Linked DNA regions of Homo sapiens: region 2 is linked to region 1. Evidence: promoter capture Hi-C in 16 types of primary human blood cells and fetal thymus (Javierre and others, 2016). All regions are on one chromosome and are shown on one strand. The core of a region is centred on a gene start or on the middle of the fragment in contact, and the rest is flanking DNA. Distances in the headings are between cores, read along the strand shown.

Region 1 (2,871 bases), core at 115-2,614:
AAAATATCAAACAGATACAAATAAAACACCCCGCAGGGGGAGGGAGCGAAGGGGAGGAGGGCGAGGAAGCCCCGAGGAACCTGAGGACCCGGCCCGGGCGAGGGGGCGAGGGACGAGCGGTAGGAAGGGCCGGGCCAGGTGAGGGATTCTCAGCTCCCAAGGTCCCGGATCGGGACAAGAAAGAGGAGAACTGAGACTAAGAGGTGGGGACCGGGACCTGCCGGGCAGAAGCCGGGAGGAGGCAGGTGTCCGGGGCCCCGGGGCGGGCTGGAGCCCTCGGCCAGGGAAAGCCGTTGCCTGGCGGAGAGGGGAGCTGAGCAGGGGCGGAGACCGGCCAGAGCGCGCGGGGCGTTGAGGAAGGTGAGGCGCAGGGGAAGCAGGAGGCGCGAAGGGGTCCGAAAAAGGAAACGACTGGGGGATGTCTAGCGAACGGGGGTTCGGCAGAGGTGGGGGGCTCGTAGTATTCAAGGAAGAACGCTCGAGGCTGCAGAAGAGGAAAACGCTCTAGAAAGCTGAGCGGTACAAGGGTGCTGTGGAGTCGGGTCAACAGGGCAAGAAGGGAGCGTCCTCGGTGGGAGGAGGAACCCCTGTAGGGGAAAAGAGAGGCTCTGCGTTAAGGGAACCCGAGTGAGGGGATGCCCCCACTGACGGACCGCGGTGGGGACTTCCAACCTGAGGAGCCCGGGGGGAGGGGAAGGTTCGGTGCTGGGAAGACAGGGGGAGGGGACCCGGGGGGAGGAGGGAGGATTGGTGCTGAGGGGACGGGGGGAGGGGAAGCCTGTGCAGAGGGGACGGGGGGAGGGGGAAATGAAGCTCGGTGCCCAGGGACCCGGGCAGGGGGAGGGTCCGCGCAGAAGGGAACAGGGACGAAGGAGGAGGATCCACCCTGAGCGAGACCGGGGAGGAGAGGGAGGGTCCGCGCCAACGGGGAACGGGGTGAAGGGCCACCCTAAGGGGCCGCGGGGCCGCTGCGGCTTCCCAGGGCGAGGGTCGGCAGAGAGGAGGGGGATCCCTGGCGGAGGCTCAGGAAGCCGGTTCCTGCCTGGCCCGGGCGTCGCAGGCCCCTCACCCACCGTTGCGCGGCGGCGGAGGGAGCGCGGCGGGAGGCTCCAGGAACCCCGCCGAGCCCCCGCCGCCTCCCCCTCCGCTAGGCGGCGGTTCGTCCCGCTCCATGCGGTGGTGCCTAGGGTCCGCGCCGGGTTTGTTGCTCCGCCATGACCGGCGCCCTAGTCGCCGTGGTCGTCGTCCGCCGAGGGGAGGAGGTTGTCAGGAGCCCGCGAGCTCCCGGCCGCGGCTCTCTCTGGGCCCCGAGCCGCCCGGCTCCGCGCCGCTCCGCGCCCCTCCGCGCCGCGCCCCCTCAGCACTGGCCAGCTCCCTCCCCTGACGTCACACGCCGCTGCCGCGCAAGGCCCTGCGGGGCACGCTGGAAGTTGGAGTCCGCTCAGCGAGGCCGGCCACGCCGACCGCACCAACTGAAGGGGTGGAAGGAGGGATAAGAAGTCCTGAGAAGGGAAAGCTAAAGTCTGTCAATATCAAGAACCATGACAAAGCGTTTGATGTCTATGTAGTAAGCGGATACTTCCGGGCCTTGTCTTGATTGTGATTTCTACCTGATCAAAGTTCCCTAAGAGTCCTCGTAACCCCCCACCCCAACAATGAGTCTTTGCGAGGAGGTGGATCGCGAGGCAGCCGGGTGAGCACGTGCAACGAAGCCCAGCCCTGTGGGCGGGGCCCTGGAGGCGGGGCTTGAAGGTACTCACGTGGGCCTCTCCCTGCCGCTGCGGGACAAATTGGACCGGAGATTAAAGGACCGGAGTTTAACTCGAGGTGACTGCGTTCGTATGCAAATGGAATATATAAAACTCTTCTTTCCGGGGTAGTCTTTAAAGACTTTTTACCTCCGGGTGGGCGGCAAAGACTAAAGTTTCCCCTCCTCCCCTTTCATTTTCCCCCTGCCCATAGAACAGATGGGCAAACTAAGCTCCGGGCCATTGGGGCTATTAAAGAAAGCCCTAGGCTCTTGACCCCAGGTGTCTTGAAACCTTCCGTTTAAGAGGGATCCCTTGCCCAGCCTTGTTTGCCTTCCCCTTTCCTCAGTTTCCCTATCTGTAAAAGGGGGTTGGAATAAGGACAGGATCAAGTTGGAAGATCGCAAACCCCTGCCCCTCCCACCTCAGTTTCCCGAAGCTTTCCGGAAGCAAAATCCCGAATTTTGCAGCGGCTCCCGGCCGAATCCACCCGCTGCGGCCACCAGGTGGCGCGCGGCCACCGGTCACTAGGCCCGCCGGGGTGTCCGTCTTCGGCGACCCCATCGGGAAAGGATTTCGCTGCTGCCGCCAAGGGTCTAAGGCCTACCTGGCCCACTTGAAGACAAAGAACGAGAACGTTGGTGCTTTGCCCACTTCTGCTCTGCCGGATTATGCTGCAGCTTCCTCGGTGGCCGCTCATTCGCCCTCTCCTGCCCCACCCGCCCCACCAATCCCTTAGCCCTTTTATTTTTTTTTTGCCTAATTTTAAGTCCTCGTCCTGGCATTCGCATCCCTGCTTGGCCTGACCCTTGCCCACATTTCGCACCATACCCCGTCCCTCACCTGCTACGAAAGTTGCAACGCTTCTCTGCACTTGGGGGCAACTGGACCTTACCAACCCTGGTGAAACTGTATTTCATACGTAATCTGGGAGACTTACATTAACGCTCTGCCGTCTAAACCTCATACCTGCTCTATGAGATAGCAACAATATTGTCCCTTTCCAGCACTGATGAAGTCCACCAGAAGTGATGGGGATTCCAGCTCCATTCTGTCACACACCAGAACCTTAATCCTTGGCTCCTTCAAGCTGGAACGCGGCTGACTTCACCTGACCCACTCC
Region 2 (2,761 bases), core at 43-2,542, 490 kb after region 1:
TTGAAATAGCTGGGGAAATGATTATTACTTTTTTCCTTTTTTTGCCTGGAGACTCCCAGTATTGGAGGATATAATCATTGTTCTCAATTTTTTGAAGATCTGTCAAGTGGAAGACATTCTGTATTGCTCCAGGCAGCCTAACTACCAGCAATGGAAGGAAATAAAGGGAAACAGATTTCAGCTCAGCAGGAGGCAGAACTTTCTAACATTTAGAGCTGTCCAACAGTGGAGCAGGCTGCATTACTTGAGGGAGTGAGCTCCCTGAAATTTGAACTGTTGAACAGGAAGATGACCATCTGGCTGAATGTACAGGAGGGAATTCCTGCCTGGGCAACAGTTGCACTAGTGACCTTTAAGCAGGTATCTTCCAATTTTAAGGTTTCTAGACTGTTCAACTCAGCTAACTTGACCTCTGAATATATGAGTTATGGTGTTACAAAAATTATTAGACAGTTCATTTATTGACTTACCTAAAATAACTGCATGGTGAAGTTTATGATAAGCAAGATTTTAGAAACTGAGAAGTGGGAAGGCAGGTTTTACACTGAAAATCCAGATACCATCCAAACCAATTAATGGCACTTAGAACAAAAGGGAAGGGAGGGGCCGGCAGCGGTGGCTCACGCCTGTAATCCCAGCACTTTGGGAGGCCGAGGCGGGCGGATCACGAGGTCAGGAGATCGAGACCATCCTGGCTAACACGGTGAAACCTCGTCTCTACTAAAAATCAAAAAATTAGCCGGGCGTGGTGGCGGGCGCTTGTAGTTCCAGCTACTTGGGAGGCTGAGGCGGGAGAATGGCGTGAACCCGGGAGGCGGAGCTTGCAGTGAGCCGAGATTGAGCCACTGCACTCCAGCCTGGGCGACAGAGCCAGACTCCGTCTCGAAAAAAAAAAAAAAAGGGAAGGGAGGTTTGTAAGTAGTGTGTGCGTACGTGTGAGAGAGAAACAGAGAAGAGAGAGAGTCATTCATGCGAATAATGTGTCCTGGGCAACTGAGCGTTGTCACAGAAAGCATAAAACGCTCTACATTTTTGCTTTACACATACTTGCTCAGTCGGATTCTTCACGTCCAGCATTACTGCAGGCGGAAACCAGGGCCCAGGCCTGGTGAACAGCCTTCCGGAAGACGATTCCGGACCCGGACACCCACGACAGCCTCAGGGGGCAGCTGACCTAGGGCTGCCTAAGGCGGAAGTGGGAGCCCCTAGCCGCCCGGGCGGAACTACAGCTCCCAGAGGCCCCCGCGGCGCTGCGCACGCGCGCTGGCGTGGCGGCAGCGCCGCTGCAGGACGCAGGGAAGCCAACAGGCGAGTGGCGAAGGTGGCGGCAGCGGCGGCGGGGGCAGTCACCGGCTAGGGCGACGGCTCCGAGGCCGAGTGGCGGTCCGACAGAGTCCTCCGTGTCCTCCCCCGCATGACCCCCTTGGTGAGTACGCGTCCCGATTTAGTCCGCGGGCTGTGAGCGGCTCCCTGCCTCGCGGCCGGGTTGCTCCGGCCTAGGGCCGCAGCCTGTCTCTGACTGCCCGGCCGTCAGGTCCAACTGACCCCGGGGTCCTGGGCTCTTCCCGTCAGTGTCGGGCGAGGTGGGGGTCGGGGGACACTGGGTTAGACCCAGGGGAGAGATGTGGCGGCGCGCAGGAGCCAGGGCGGCCTGGGGCTGAGGAGAGGGAGAGACGCGTGGGGGATGGGATGGGAAGGGACAGGAGGACCGCGGGGCGGCCTCGGGTGGGGGCCAGAGACGAGAGGCCCGGCAGGTAGGGAACTGAGTATAGGAGGCGAGAACGAAATGGAATGTCTTCTGAGTGTCGCTGATAAAGATATCGTGCTGCAGGGAAGCTTGACAAGCTGGACACACGGGTCTGGGGGCAGCCCACCTAACACAGACACTCACTGTACTTGGCATCTTTCCACTTGCTGTCGGAGGTCTGAAAGTGAGGGAGCTGTTGGTTGTTTCCATCCCTTTTCTTTTAACTTCACCTTTTATTGACTGGCAAAATTGTAGTGAGTGCTGGCTAGGCAAACCACAGAAGTACACCCAGGGTTCTGTGTATAAATGTGCATAAAAACAGGGAGACATAGTGATAGGTTCAGATGAGAACTAGGTCAAAGGAGGAATCAGTGTTTTTATTTTTAAATTTATGACGAAAATCAGTTCTGAGCAGGACTTTGAACTAGAGAGGGGTTTTAAACTGGAGTTCATTGATGGATAGAATTAGAAGGGTCCTTTCACTAGAAGGAGGATAAAATGACATCATTATTTTTATTGACTGCTAACTGAAACTTATTATTTCCTTCAGTTACGAATGTGGACAACAAGCCAGAGTAGCATTAGCAGCGCCTATGACTTTGTGATCAATAAAAATTACGGATATTTTTGCATCATGTTTACAGTTGCAGATAGCTCAGAATATCATTTATGGTTAACACTTCTTTGAATTTCTGGTGTTACTAGACCCGCCGTTAGACATTGTTATTTAATGTGATAATAAGGCTGTACATATATTATGACCATATTAGTTTGTTGTTTTGCTAATATTTCCATATAATTGGTTTCCCTTGTAATCACATGTATTTAATTATGCACTTAAAAGAAATCTGAGAAAGGGACCATAGGCTTCACCAAACTGCCAATGAGGTCCGTGCACAAAAAGATTAAGAACTCCTGAAATAATTTGGGAGGCCGAGGCGGGCGGATCATTGAGGTCAAGAGATCGAGACCATCCTGGCCAACATGGTGAAACCCCATCTCTACTAAAAATAC

What was found. Contacts are between HindIII fragments. The CHiCAGO score rates a contact against its expected background, and 5 or more counts as called.
Region 2: the fragment with the promoter of GAPVD1 here is called in contact with the fragment with the promoter of NR6A1 in region 1 in 5 of 17 cell types (endothelial precursors, total CD8 T cells, naive CD8 T cells and 2 more); the score reaches 7.9 in endothelial precursors.

What each region holds. Positions count from the first base shown.
Region 1 is chr9:124,769,947-124,772,817 of GRCh38, forward strand. NR6A1 (nuclear receptor subfamily 6 group A member 1) reads right to left here and starts at 1,365. Exons shown (of 10, transcript NM_033334.4): 1 at 1,074-1,365. The coding sequence starts at 1,173. LOC124900274 (a long non-coding RNA gene) reads right to left here and starts at 534. Exons shown (of 2, transcript XR_007061773.1): 1 at 1-534. It overlaps LOC107987126 (a long non-coding RNA gene), which reads left to right and starts at 1,411. Exons shown (of 2, transcript XR_001746926.3): 1 at 1,411-1,827; 2 at 2,756-2,871. RefSeq lists silencers at 65-314, 855-1,434 and enhancers at 1,147-1,714, 1,505-1,764. The HindIII fragment of the contact is 3,513 bases long and covers 1-2,185 here.
Region 2 is chr9:125,260,534-125,263,294 of GRCh38, forward strand. It overlaps GAPVD1 (GTPase activating protein and VPS9 domains 1), which reads left to right and starts at 1,293. Exons shown (of 28, transcript NM_001282680.3): 1 at 1,293-1,426. RefSeq lists silencers at 1,190-1,371, 1,310-1,439. The HindIII fragment of the contact is 7,780 bases long and covers 1-1,834 here.